Linked DNA regions of Homo sapiens: regions 2, 3 and 4 are each linked to region 1. Evidence: promoter capture Hi-C in 16 types of primary human blood cells and fetal thymus (Javierre and others, 2016). All regions are on one chromosome and are shown on one strand. The core of a region is centred on a gene start or on the middle of the fragment in contact, and the rest is flanking DNA. Distances in the headings are between cores, read along the strand shown.

Region 1 (3,673 bases), core at 639-3,138:
GGGAGGCTGAGGTGGGCAGATCACAAGGTCAGGAGATCAAGACCATCCTGGCCAACATGGTGAAACACAGTCTCTACTAAAAATACAAACATTAGCTGGGCATAGTGGCACATGCCTACAGTTCCAGCTACTTAGGAGGCTGAGGCAGGAGAATCACTTGAACCCAAGAGGCAGAGGCTGCAGTGAGCCGAGATCATGCCACTGCACTCCAGCCTGGGCAACAGAGCAAGACTCTGTCTCAAGAAAAAAAAAAGTTTGATGAGTGTGGGGCTAGTGTTGTGATAGTCTCCTGTGCCCTGCCAACTCTTTTGGATTATTTTTTAAAATGAGGAACATTTCAGATTTAGTTTGTAGCAATTCAACTTTGGGAGTCTTGCAAGAACTCACTTATTTTAATGGAAAATAGCCCAGGTTGTCTACCAGCTTTTCCTGAGCTCTGTTTTGGGTGTTCTACCCAAAATAAAAAACGTATAAACACAAAAATAGTAATGTTCATGTCTGTGACAGCCAATGTTAAGTCTCTGCTGTTGTCTATGGCTGTTATCCAAAAAGTAGATTCAATTCTGTCATGTATTGGAGTCTGGGAATGTTGTTAAGAGATACATACATTGAAATTTGGAGAGCTGCTCTGTATTTATCAATTAGGCAGTAATAATCTTGGATGAAGGCTAGTCTTATTAATGTTGTGAACCAGTCTTATTAATGTTGTGAACCAGTAGTGTCCCCAGGAATAGAGAACACTACACTACTCACTTTGCATTTTCTTATCCACATAATAGAATTAGTTAGTGATAACCCTCTTTACTCGGAATCGATTGCTGCCACATTTCTGCATGATACATAGATCTCTGCAAATATGTGATTTTTTTCCTAAATGGAGAAAATCCAAAAATTCTTCTTAAAATTTTTCATGGGCATACAAGAAGATAGGAGGTGACATCTTAAAACAAGTATCTCTGAACTTTTTGTATAAAAAAAAGCAACCTCTTTGCTCTATTATTAATACCACATGTGGTGATATGAATGCCCAAATGTAGACAGCAGTTATGAGATATTACAAGAGAAGAAAAAAGCTCTGCCGCTTATGGCAACTTACCCAAAAAGTTATCTTTGACTTAGGCTGGAGGTGCACATAGCATAGCTCCTAGAGTTCTGTTTATGTCATGAATATTTGTTACTCAAAACTCCATAGGCCAAGAGCTCCTGAAGAGAAGGTCACATGCTAGCAGCAATTGTCATTTTTTCCCTCAAATATTGCTATAGTATAATTTTGTTTGAATTATAAACTTCAGTCTTTATTATATTTGATTCTGGCATTTTGGTTTGTAGTGCTATAGTACAGGAAATGTTTTAAATGCTTTGCCTTTATGTAAGTGAATATCGGTACACACACATACACATACACACACAGACACAGACACACACACACACACACTCACAGCCAGTTTAGAATGTGGGGTAAGGAACACCAGACAAAGAGGGCAATATAAGAAAGAGAAGACATTGAAAACATTGGGAAGAGGCAGTAACAGAGTGCCAGAGAAGATAAGGCAGCTGGGAGGGGGAGAAACTAAGTGAGGTGGATAAACTAAAAGCATCCTTCTGGGTTAAAGCAGACTAAAAGCTTAGCAATTGCTTAATATCACCATCTTATCCTATAGATGTGGGAATAAAGGCTAAGGAAGGAGAAATGAAAATGCAGAATCATATGGGGGCTTTTCCAAGGAGGTATGAAGGAAGGTGAGGACAGGGAGAGCGGCTGGAAGTCAGGGGGTAAGAGAAACTCTAAAAATCAGGGCTTGAGGGAAATAAAAGGTGAGGTAAGAGGCTCAGGGCTGTGGGAGGCACATTTTTCTCTGAAAAGCAGTTTGGATGAGGAAGAGATTTGGCAGTTGGAAGAGAGAAGAAGTCACTACAGGGTACTGAGGAAAAGCTTTGCTGAAATTGGAGATCAAATACCAGCTCTGCCAGTAAGAAGTTGCATCTCCCAGTGAAATGCTGCTGCTGCCATTTCAACTGTTAGCTGTTCTCTTTCCTGGTGGTAACAGTGAACATGGTAAGAGTCACTCTGGCAGCTCCCAGCACTGGTGCAGGGGTTTGGATTTTAAAAAGCAAGCAGGGCTTTCCTAGGTGCAATTGGACACTAAGGGTCTGGGTCTTTCTGTCTCCCGCCCTCTTCAACCATTCTGGTGGTTGGGACTAGAACCTGAAGCCTTAAGGCAGTCAAATGTGTCAGACTTCCTGTGTTCTTTAGACTCTAGGTTCTTGTTTTCTAAATCATTTTCATTCCCATTCTTCCTAATTGTCTCCTGCTTCTCTCTTTATCTTCACCATCTTGCTTTTCCACTCTTCACAGCCTTCCAGGGGCCGACCTCCTTTCATGTTATCCAGACCTCGTCCTTTACCAATAGTACCTGGGCACAAACTCAAGGCTCAGGCTGGTTGGATGATTTGCAGATTCATGGCTGGGATAGCGACTCAGGCACTGCCATATTCCTGAAGCCTTGGTCTAAAGGTAACTTTAGTGATAAGGAGGTTGCTGAGTTAGAGGAGATATTCCGAGTCTACATCTTTGGATTCGCTCGAGAAGTACAAGACTTTGCCGGTGATTTCCAGATGAAATGTGAGTCTAGTCCACCGAACTGGGAAGAGTCTCAAGGACTCTCTTTTCTCTCTTTTTTGCAAAGTGTTGCTCTCTCTGATGCTTCTCCCTTCCTTTCTATTTTACCCAAATGCACGCACATGCTTTTCTTGAGTAGTCTCTCACTCCAGCTTCACACCATCACACCTCATATTTCAGATTCTTGCTGCCTCTGCACTCTTCTCTTACTCTCAGACTGTCTTCCACTTTGTAACCAGCTGCTGGTTTGTCTTATGTGAAACTTCTCCTCAAGGGCCCTTACTTCTCCTACCCTGTGCCTGAGTGATCTAACGTGTGGCTTTCTCCCCTAATCCATCTTTTCAATCATCTCCTCCCCGCACCCTCCTCTTGCTGGGAACCTCCACTCACTCTGGAATGCTGCACTCCTGACTGCACCACGCTCTGCCTCACCTCTCCTTTCATACTCACTGTACTCCTTTATCACATACCTTTGTCTTCATGGCATGCACATTTTTCTCAATGCTCTTGTTTCTGAAAATGTCTAAATGTTATCATTAGTTTTTAGCTCATCATCATTTTACACCAAATAACTTTATCCCCACCAAAATCTAAAATCCTAGGTTCTTTTCTCATGCCTTTTTTTCTTATTTGTGTTTAATAACTTGCTCTCTTTTCCCTCTACATAGACCCCTTTGAGATCCAGGGCATAGCAGGCTGTGAGCTACATTCTGGAGGTGCCATAGTAAGCTTCCTGAGGGGAGCTCTAGGAGGATTGGATTTCCTGAGTGTCAAGAATGCTTCATGTGTGCCTTCCCCAGAAGGTGGCAGCAGGGCACAGAAATTCTGTGCACTAATCATACAATATCAAGGTATCATGGAAACTGTGAGAATTCTCCTCTATGAAACCTGCCCCCGATATCTCTTGGGCGTCCTCAATGCAGGAAAAGCAGATCTGCAAAGACAAGGTTAGTCCTGCTGTTATTTCACTTCCCACCACCTCCTCTAAGATCAAGAGTAGGAAGATATCAAAGGATAGGAGCTTAAATAACAAGTTATTTGGTTCCCAAAGGA
Region 2 (3,673 bases), core at 470-2,969, 120 kb after region 1:
GAACATAGTGGTGTGTAGGAAAAAAAAAAAAGAATTTTAAATACAATGTTACATAATTTCTTGAATTCCAGCTAAGTTGTACCTCAAAATTCATATAATGATATATCACCAAAAATTATTTTTAATAATTACACAGATGAAAACTCACTTAGATCTTATTTCAGTTTTTTAAATTAAAAAAAGTAACTCCAATTAATTTGAAAAGGGATTTCTTATCTAGCCAACAGAAGAACTTACTTTCTCAACCACATCAGCAATGTTTCAAATTGTTCTTTTGTTTAGAACCCCTGAAGTTTAGCATCATTCCTTGACAATACACCAAAATAAGCTTTTGAGGGATGAGCTATATGCTTTTCCTCATGGGAAACCAATTATGAAAAGGGTCATGGGAAGTTAGAAGCATCAAGAAAATTACCTAAGCATGTGAATTTTGGTGAAGAGTATGTATAAAATTTGGAAATTTATCCCCTTAATACTGTCCATCCCTATACCCCCTTTGAAAGTTTTTATGTACCTACTAGGTATATATAAAGTCTTTATGTACCTACTAGAATATACTTTGGCAGAGCAATGATTTGTAGGCCTATGAAGATCCACAGAGGGACATCACACAAAAGGGAGAATTCGTCTCTTTCTTGTCCATGTACATTTATGGTATCTCCTTGTTCTAGACACTGAAAGAATCTACCTGTATATTTCTAAGTGATGGAGATTATGAGTCCTGCTATGGTCTTTGTGCTTGAGTTGACTCCTTCCATGAAACTTCAATCTGCCTTCTACCACCTCATGCTCTTAAGAGATTCACAAGAATCCACAAACCAGCCTAGACCCAGTGGGCTTCTGTCATTTGGGATTGGCTTCCAAATATTCTATATAAAATATTTTAGACTTCTATCAATAACATAAATGACTAGAATACTTAGTTTATACACAAGAACTAAGAAATACTTTTTGAGAAAATGATAAAGGGGATGTTCCCAACCAGAAATCTAGATTATCCTTATCCATTTAAGGGGTGAAAGTGTTACGGGATCTTTGGGGTGTCAATTTTCTGGCTGGAATCTTCTGCGGCCAGTGGCACCTTTATCCAACTTTTGCTCAGAGACTGCTGGGTTCATTCCACCCACTTGGTCTGGCAGGCTGCACTTGGTTCACACTACCAGTCTGGATCCCACACCTGCCAAGGGTGAGCCAGGTGCACAGTGACAAGAGGTGTGTGAGAGAGTGTGGGATCCAGCCACTGTACACAGTCAGACACACCAGCTGCTGCCACGGGGTGGGCAGTTCCAGGTACTGGCATGGATGCTGGCTCTCTGCAAGGCTGTGGCTGGATCAGGTGCACTGCAAGAAGCTTCCCTGGCTAGCACCAGGGAATGCAGTGGCACCCAGAAGGTTTGAGACACCAGGAACTGCAGGACCCCAAAAAGGAAGCCACAGCCCTGGCATGGGGGGCTCTTAGGTCTGGGCTCCCGAAGAGCCACAGCTCTTCTCTTCTTCTCCTCACCCACAATGTTTCAAGTAAGGGGCATGTCTCAGCCCCATTTGTGTTACAGCTCTTTTAGCCTTGCCATCTGGTGGCTCCTGAGTTTTTGTCCTGCAACCAGGAAGAATGAGGTATGCAGACAAGTGGAGGATGAACAAGATGAAGATGAGCTTTATTGAGCAATAGAACAGCTCAAAGGAAGGCAGCTCCTCTCCATAGCCAGTGTGTGCCAATGGTGTTTTCACCTCCCAGCAGAGAGGGTAGCTCTTCTCTGCTGGGTAGGTCATCCCCACAAGTGTCCACCTCTCAGCAGAGAAGGTAGTTTCCCTCTGCAGCTGGTCATCTCATCATCTCCTCAGCTCTCAGCAGAGAGGAGACCCTGGGGTGGGCAGATCCTTTCTGCAGCTCATCGTCCTGTCCTGCCATCTCCCTATCATCTCTACATCCTCTCCTGGAGTCTGGCTGAGTCCAGGGTTTTTACGGGCCTCAAAGGGAAGGAAGTGCATGCTGATTGGTCCACGGGTGGCCATCAGCGGGCCCAGGATAAAGCACCATGGGTTCCCCCTGTGGTCTGTAGAACTGGCAGACCATCCCCCAAGCTTCAGGCCTTCCGTGGCTTGAAGGTGGGGCTTCAATGGGGACGCACCCCCTTCTGCCTCCTACTGCCATTCATGGCACCCAGGCTGTTTATGCCAAGAGGCACCTGAAGGCCAGCACCAGTCTGTCCTCAGCTCTCCCTCGGCCTCCCTCCCATGCTTGTCAGAGCCCAAAGTCCAGAGGAGGATGAGGCAGCAGGCGGCTGGTGTGTCAGGGCTGCCTGAGCATGTACACCATTGGCCAGGCTGTGACAGTGCCTCGGCTCAGCGCCACACTGCTCTTAGATCAGAGCAGGCACTGACAGCAGGGAAAACGCAGGCAGGAGGAGCAGGCACTTCTGAGCCTGCAAGGGCTGGGGGACCTTCCCAGGCCTCCAAGAGTGCAGAGATGCCTGGGTCCACAGCTGCAGTTTGGGAAGCTGCAGCCAGGCCCAGGAGGGCAGGGCTGTTGCCTGCTCCTGGCTTCTGCTGGCTCTGTGGAGTGCTACATCACTCCAGATCCAGCTCCACCTCGGGGCTCCTCTCTGCCTGCTCCTCTGTAGCCAATCAAGTTGCTCCCCCGCTGGTGGGTAACCCAGCCCAGTCCCATGGCAGCGGCTCCCAGGGCAGAGGGCTCCATGGGAGGATCCTAGGGGCGGGCCCCAGGGACTGTCTGCCTCCTCCCCATGCCCTCCCCGCAGCAGTGGTGGGCGAGAACAGTGAGGCGGAGCCAGGATCCAGAGCGGCAGAGGCTCCGGGCCTGGGAGCAGGTCCCACCTGGCTGCACAAGGATGGGGGTGGCACAGTTGGCTATCACGGGGATACAGGCACAGAGAACCCACCACCACCATTGCTGCTCCTGCAGCCCCTCTTGCTGCCACCAATCATGCCTTCCCACTGCAGCTGGCATGATGGCAGTGGCCACTCCAGGCAGCCCTCCACTGCCATCAAAAGGATATCAAAATGACTTTCCATAAGTAACATATTGCTAGCCACTCAGAGGCACAGCCAAAATCAGCTCATCAAAAATTTGAGGATAAATGTGATATATCACATAAACAAAATTAAAAACAAAAATCATATGATCACCTCAACAGACGCAGAAAAGGCATTTGACAAAATCCAGTATGCCTTTATGATTAAAAACCTTTGACAAAACTGGCATGTAAGGGACATAAAGTAATAAAAGCCATCTATGACAAGCCCACAGCCAACATCATACTGAATGGGGAAAAGTTGAAAGCATTCCCCTTGAGAACTGGAACAAGACAAGGATGCCCACTTTCACCACTTCTATTCTACATAGCACTCAAAGTCCTAGCCAGAGCAATCACATGAGAGAAAGAAATAAAGGGCATCCAAAACAGAAAGAGAAAGTCAAGCTGTCACTATTTGCCAATTATATGATCATAGACCTAGAAAATACTAAAGACTCATCAAAAAACTTCTAGATCTGATAAATGAATACACTATTGTCTCAGAATACAAAATCAATGTACACAAATCAGTAGCACTGTTATATACCAACAATGACCAAGCTGAGAATCAACTAAAAAATTCAATCCCTTTTACGACAGCTACAAAAAATAAAATAAAATACTTAGAAATATGTTTA
Region 3 (3,673 bases), core at 380-2,879, 93 kb before region 1:
TGCAAGTGTACTACCAATAACAGAAAGAGAGACTCACAATTAAAAGTACATCAAATAATGTTAATCAGGATTATTTAAGTTTTAAAGTGTTTTTCTGCAAAATTGTGCATATAAATTTTATATATTCTTAAATTAACTGATTCATTTTTCTTTCTAAATTTTTATATGCACTCTGTTGGTTCTGATTTAATTTGACAGGGCACTCAACAATATTTTAATTAAAAATTTTAAATAATGACGTTTTTGTAGAAAGGACTGTATCAGATAGGATCTACACAAAGATATAATACCTAATATGTGCTGAGAACTTAATAAATGCTCTGAAAATAGTTATAATTGACAGATATAAAGACTAAGAAACCCTGCCCTCTGGGAACCCAAAAACAGAAACAGGCAAAAACACTAGCACAAGGACATAGACTTAGGAAAAGAACACCGTAAGTAACTGCTGCCAAAAAAGAGAAAGTAATTATGGATGAAACAAATATCTTCAGAAGGCAGGATAATACTGTGGAAATCACATTCTTCTGAAAGAGAAAAGACCTCTGTTCCATTGCTAACACATCCACTCAGTTGCTTTCTAGTCTTAGAAACTTCATAGCACTCTCTGAAGCTCAATTTCTTCATCTGTCTGATGAAACTACTAAGCTAGATCTTTAAGATCATATACAGCTGTAACTGTGACTCTGGCTTTCTGGAGACCTCTTGAGTAAGAGACAAGAACTACTGCAACATACCTTTCCCAGTCCTGAAAAATGAAATGATCTTTATTTTATTAAATCCCTCCCAAAACCAACAAAGGTACAGGAAGCAATGTGAAAGGTATGTTCTTCTCAAAACTAGCAGTGCTCTCTGCCCCTTTTCAATTCCAAGTTAAACTTACATAAATAATGTCTGTGAAACCACTCAACTGTTACAAAAGCATTGTCTCATCCATTTTAAAGAAATCTTAAAAGTTAGGTTAGCTGACATCAGAATGAATGAACCGCATTACAAAGATGAGAAAATTGATTCAGACTCATCAAAGTCCTGTAGCTAATACATAGCAAAGTTGAAAACTGAGGCCATAACAAAATTGTAGCAGAAGTCTTTTCCTTGAAATAGCTTTATCTGGAAGGAGAGTGTTGAATACTGCTTTCCCTTTCTCACCACACACACACACACACACAGATTGTACTGTAGTCTAGTGTTGGTTCCACCAGCTGTGTGAACTTAAGAGGAGTCCCCAAACTCTGATTCTCAAATTTCTTATCTTTATAATAAAGATATTAAAAGTAATAAAAACTTCATAAGGTTGCTGTGAGGACCAAATGAGAGAATATATGTAACAGTATTTTCACCAAATCTAGAACAAACAGAGCATGTGATAAATGTCAACTTGCCTTACATTATTACAAGATAATTCTAAATTTTGATTAATAAACTGATACCAAAATTGTGTTCTATTTTTTCTTCCTGGAAACATCAAAAGCAATATTGATAGACACAATGGAATAATGCTCCCAAAAAACATAACTGAGTTTATTTTTTCTTTGTTTTTGTCTACTTGTTTGCTAGTTTTTTGAGTGTGTGACCTCAACATGAAACATGAAGTTTATTGTAAGGAAACAGAAGAAGAGAAAAGGGAGAATAATTAGTGTGTCTTGTTTCATGGGCCTTTGTAAACTTACATTTTAATTCTGAAAGGCCAGTCAACATTAAAGAAAAGATTAGTTAGTTCAATCAAAATATCTAGATAAGTAATGGCATTTAGACTCAGCCAGTACTTTTATTAAAATTCTTACAGGTGAAATTCAAATACTACTTGTTCTTCAAAGCCTTCTCTAAAATTATTGGGTTTTTCCTCCAGATTTTCAGGACATTTTGTTTATACTTATTTTATAATGTTTATAGGCTATTTTATAATATGAATAGGTGTTTGATTCTTCTCTGAGAAAAGGGCAATGATTTTATTCATAATTATATCTATAGTGCTTAGATAGTAACAGAAATCATGAAATCGTAAAACATGAGAATTGTTAGACAATCTGCCCCAGTCTTTAGGAACTCAATAAATTGTTGAGATTGATGCCTAAATATGTATGGCCTCCCTTCAAGAGCAAAACAGAACTCCGTGGAAAACCAAGTTACTTTCAGTCAGGCTTGGAGAGCCTCAAGGGAAGAATAATTTCTCTTAAATTTTCTCTTCCTGAGAAAATACAGAAAAATCAGTTTCAATAACTTCCCATGAGTTAAATGCTTATTGCCTCACTGATGAAAATATTTCTGATACCAATACCTATAGAACAACAATAAAGTAATAAAACAGAAGTACTTACTAAGCACTCCTTATTTATGGGACAAATCTCTTTCATATATATTGCCTGAATTAATTCTCATGATAGCCCAGGAGGCAGGAATTATTCTTATCATACAAATGAGAAAATAGGCCTTAGAGAATTTATTAAGGTTTTACCACTAGAACTTGCCAGAGTCAGGATTAAAGCCTACATCTGTCAAAATGTAAAGCCTATTTTATTCCTACATTACTCAACTTTACATGTGCTTGTGAGAGGAAAATTTCAGATTCTACATGTAGAAATTTATTAGTAGTACTAAAAACTAGAGAATATAGAATTTGAAAGTTAATAGTATGATAGTAATAAATATGCCAACCACCTAGGCAAAAAAAAAAAAAAATATTGGGCGAAGAACCAGAGGAATAAGATAGAGGAGGAGGAGGGTGATTGCCCCTTTCATGGGGTTGAGGAAGGGAGTGATATAAAGTAGAACATGCAAGCAGAAAACATCCTTGCACTCTTCCAGGAGCAAGGAGAAGCAAATGTACTTACTTGCCCTATTTATATATTTAGATTAAAAGTTTTAGAAACTAAATAGTGCCTGTGTTATGATATTTCTCCAAGTATACTTAGTTCAGCCTTTTCATAACATATATAAAGAAACCTAGAAATAAATAAAAAATACATATCATTTTTCAAGGATGTATACAAGATATGTCTCCTGAGTGCTCCTATAATTTCAAATGCATATCCATCATCTCAATCACCACATTTTTAATAATATCTTCTGAATGGGTCTCACCCTTGAAACATGAACTAGAGGCTCGGGACTGGGTCTTATTTAAATGTGTATCTTCATTGCAGACCTAGTAGCTGACACATTGTTATAATCACACTGCTTAATACATGTGTACTATCTGATATTCTTGATTTGGTGGTTCTTAGGTAACATAAAAATGCATTGTCATTAATTTTGTTATTAATATTAGTTAAGGTGATTTTAATAATATACTTTTAATGGGATAATTGTAAGGTTATCTTTATGATTTTTCTCTCACTTATTTGAATTCTAATTTGCTCTACAGAGCAGCAAATGTACTAGGAATTGGGAATCACCTTAGGTACACAGAATTCTGATGACCAGATGCTCTCTTCAGTGCCAGTTTTCTATTGTAAACAGAGATTTCTCTTTCAGATTTAAATGGGCCAGACTTAGTTTTATGTGGTGCAGACATTCTTAGCATTCTTGACACTGAGCAATTCTTGTGCCTAGAAAGAAATAACACTGAGAATTCTCTTACTCTGTGAGTTCTAAGAAGTCTGTGCTGCCCATGAATAAAATAGATAATGTGGCAAGTTAACTCTCTTATTTATATAACAATTATTTATTGAGA
Region 4 (3,673 bases), core at 548-3,047, 67 kb after region 1:
CAGTCCTGCCTTTAATGTCTTGAACATTTTAAATTACTTCTAGTCCCATGTTTTTTGTCAGTAGAATTGTTTCCTAAAGGAAACCACTCCTTCATAATGGCTCTCCCTGTCAGAATTGTGTGCACTCTGTAACATCTTTGGTGGTGGTAGTCCTGTTTTTCTAATAACTTTGTTACCATGCTGTGAAATACTAAAAATTTGAGTGTGTAGTGTATATGCTATTCAATTGTGAGTTGGTGGGACATCTGTTAACAGCTTATCAACATGTGAAGATACTGGTACTTGGTAGCCTCTTAAGGAAAATTTGCCTCCAAATTTTAAGCAGGAAAGTTACTGGAACAACTTTAAAAAATAATTACAATACATGGCTTTTTAGATTTTCAGTACATATATTAAGAATTGAAATATCTGTGTACTGACCCTCAACACAACCAATAAAATCTCAATTATAAAAGAAAAAAAGTGGTACTATTTGATGTGTACAACTCTAATTGCAATACAGGTATTGTACTGTATGCTTCGTGTATTGATGCATTGCATTCAGCACTTTCTTGAAGACCTTCGCAACAGTCTGGTCTGTTGTTTCTACACATGTATACTTAATCAACAAACATCTCCAAATTCATATATGGGTGTATATCTCATATATGTTATATATACCCATTTTATTGTTAGAATTCCAAATAGTTTTCTTAATTGTCTACGCATTAATTTTTCTCAGTGTGTAGTTTGTTGAAGAGAAATTCTTAATTTTACAAAGTAAAATTCAACTATTTTTTTTTGGGACAGAGTCTCACTTCTGTCACCCAGGCTGGAGTGCAGTGGTGCAATCTTGGCTCACCACAACCTCCATCTCCTGGGTTCAAGCTATTCTCCTGCCTCAGCCTCCTGAGTAGCTGGGATTACTGTAATCCCACCCCCAGCTAATTTTTGTATTTTTAGAAGAGACAGGGTTTTGCCATGTTGTCCAGTCTGGACTGGAACTCCTGACCTCAGGTGATCCAGCCACCTTGGCCTCCCAAAGTGCTGGGATTACAGGCATGAGCCACTGCACCCAGCCCCAGTCCAAATTTTAAATGGCTGCTGTCCTCTGCCAATTTTTGGAAGCTTGACAAAGACAGCTTAGGAATTTTAGATAAATAGAGCAAATGATAAGCCTTTGGAAATGCATAGGAAACAAAATGACTATTCATAGAACCAAATACAAGCCTTACAGTAGAAACTAAAAAACACCAATTGTTTTATATGTATGTAAATATAAGTAAAACCCAAAGGAGAACAAACAGCAAATAAATGAAAATTAAAAGCAAAACCAACAGGAAAATAACTCCCAAATTTTCTCTTACTTAGTTTACCTTGGAGTCTACAGTGTTATCCAGGGCCTAAAAAAATATGATATTCTGTTTCTGATATACTAATTAATGTGTTTAAGTCCACCAGTACCACTCTACATTTTGTGCAATTAAGAAATTCACTTTAGGCATGTAACCAATAAGTACCTTAGTGCTAGTACTTTCTATGTAGAATAACAAATACAGTGTGAAACAAAGCAATGCAAGCATTTATGTAAAATTTGACTCCATGTTAAATCTGGCTTCAGGCTTAACTATATTTAAAAAGAATTATCAAACTGCCAATGTATTTATTTATAATAATTCTTATTGTACCTTCATCAAGACTAAGAGCTTTAACGGTGAACAATGTTAATTAGTCAAATGTCTCCAATTTTCTATCAGTTTTTAAAGGATATTTACTATATAAACTTTTCAACTTTTTATTTTCTGTTTATGTACATGAAGATAAACACACAGAGAAACAGAAAGAAAACAACATATGACTTCAACAAGGCATCTGTGTCATGCTTGAACTTTCTGTTTTGTCCTAAATTTTTTTTAAAAAATTCATTTATTTTTAGGAAAAAAAAAATGCTGTCAGATTGTTTTCTCAGGGGACACACATACACTGTTGGTGGGAGTGTAAATTAGTTCAACCATTGTGGAAAGAAGTATGGTGATTCCTCCAACAGCTGAAAACAGAAATATCCATTCAACCCAGCAATCCATTACTAGGTATATACCCAGAGAAATATAAATCATTCTACCGTAAAGACACATGCACACAAATGTTCACTGAAGCACTATTCACAATAGCAAACATGGATTCAACCTAAATGCCCATCAACGACAGATTAGATAAAGGAAATGTAGTACCTATGCACCATGTAATACTATGCAGCCATAAAAAAGAATGAGATCATATCTTTTGTGGGAACATGGAAGGAGCTGGAGGCCGTTATCTTTAGCAAACTGATGCAAGAACAGAAAACAAAATACCACATATTCTTACTTTTAAGTGGGAACTAAATGATTAGAGTTCATGAGCACCAAGAAGAAAACAACACGCAACACGCACTGGGGCCTCCTTGAGGATGGAGGATGAGAGGAGGGAGAGGAGCAGAAAAAAATAACTATTGGGTACTAAGCTTAGTACCTGGGTGATGACATAATCTGTACAACAAACTTCCACAACATGAGTTTACTATATAAAAAACCTGCACACGTACCCCAAACCTAAAATAAAAGTCTAAAAGAAAAGATACTTGTATAAAATTATCCTCTTTTCTTTTTAACCTTTCTTGCCAAAAATACATCTTTATGTTCTTAACTTTCTTCACATCTCTCTTCCCTACTTGCTGGTTCCTTTCTACCTTATTTCATAAATAAGTTTTTCGAGTCCATAATTGGGATCAAACTTTAGAAAACATTTGAATTAGACAAAATTATTCCATTTCTCAATAAGAAAACACCTTCTTTGGCAGGTTTTATATACTAAATTATATATTAACTACAATTCTTATTCTTAGTAACCTTAAATTTTAGTGAAAACTAGGAAGCAAGAAATCTTTAACTGTCTATCAAATATTTGCATTTTATAGATGAAAACATTCCACAATTTATAAAAACATGTTTCTCCATATCATAACCCTTTCTTAACTGGAAATGAGCCAGACATCCAAGAAGCATCAAAAATAATTTTAAGATTTTAAATTACACAAAAAGCTCACCTACAAGCATGTATCCCATTTACATGTATTCAATTCTTTCATCTTTTTAAACAATTTATAGGTCAGGCGCAGTGGCTCACGCCTGTAATCCCAGCACTTTGGGAGACCGAGGCAGGCGGATCACGAGGTCAGGAGATCAAGACCATCCTGGCTAACACGGTGAAACCCCGTCCCTACTAAAAATACAAAAAATTAGCCGGGCCTGGTGGCGGGCGCCTGTAGTCCCAGCTACTCGGGAGGCTGAGGCAGGAGAATGGCGCGAACCCGGGAGGCAGAGCTTGCAGTGAGCCGAGATCGCGCCACTGGACTCCAACCTGGGCGACAGAGCGAGACTCCGTCTCAAAAAAAGAAAAAAAAAAATTTATATAAGTGGGTTCTGAAAACTGAGATATTAGACAAAGGTAGTCGTCATTTCAGGTTATTGCTCTGTTGACCATTATTTGTAGCCTATGAATATTAGGTGCTCACCTAAGTAAGCAACTTAAATACATAGGTATTTTTGCCAATAACTTAGAAGATTCAACTGTTTTTATTAAACTAACAACATTTACTTAGTCTTATTTGCCAAAGAAGGCACACAAACAAAGATCATTTTGTTTTGGCTGGGTT

Evidence for each region. Contacts are between HindIII fragments. The CHiCAGO score rates a contact against its expected background, and 5 or more counts as called.
Region 2: a contact is called between a fragment that was not itself captured here and the fragment with the promoter of CD1B in region 1, in 1 of 17 cell types (fetal thymus). The highest score is 11.0, in fetal thymus.
Region 3: a contact is called between a fragment that was not itself captured here and the fragment with the promoter of CD1B in region 1, in 1 of 17 cell types (fetal thymus). The highest score is 7.2, in fetal thymus.
Region 4: a fragment that was not itself captured here is called in contact with the fragment with the promoter of CD1B in region 1 in 1 of 17 cell types (fetal thymus); the score reaches 6.7 in fetal thymus.

The regions. Positions count from the first base shown.
Region 1 is chr1:158,329,746-158,333,418 of GRCh38, reverse strand. It overlaps CD1B (CD1b molecule), which reads left to right and starts at 1,888. Exons shown (of 6, transcript NM_001764.3): 1 at 1,888-2,056; 2 at 2,357-2,623; 3 at 3,289-3,567. The coding sequence starts at 1,996. The HindIII fragment of the contact is 309 bases long and covers 1,627-1,935 here.
Region 2 is chr1:158,211,585-158,215,257 of GRCh38, reverse strand. No RefSeq gene overlaps it. Among named protein-coding and RNA genes, the nearest start is that of CD1D, 33 kb to the right of the region's middle. RefSeq lists an enhancer at 2,583-3,133. The HindIII fragment of the contact is 731 bases long and covers 1,354-2,084 here.
Region 3 is chr1:158,422,234-158,425,906 of GRCh38, reverse strand. All of the region lies in intron 1 of OR10K2 (olfactory receptor family 10 subfamily K member 2), which reads left to right. Among named protein-coding and RNA genes, the nearest start is that of OR10K2, 2.2 kb to the left of the region's middle. The HindIII fragment of the contact is 4,551 bases long and covers 1-3,673 here.
Region 4 is chr1:158,262,738-158,266,410 of GRCh38, reverse strand. No RefSeq gene overlaps it. Among named protein-coding and RNA genes, the nearest start is that of CD1A, 10 kb to the right of the region's middle. The HindIII fragment of the contact is 1,375 bases long and covers 1,110-2,484 here.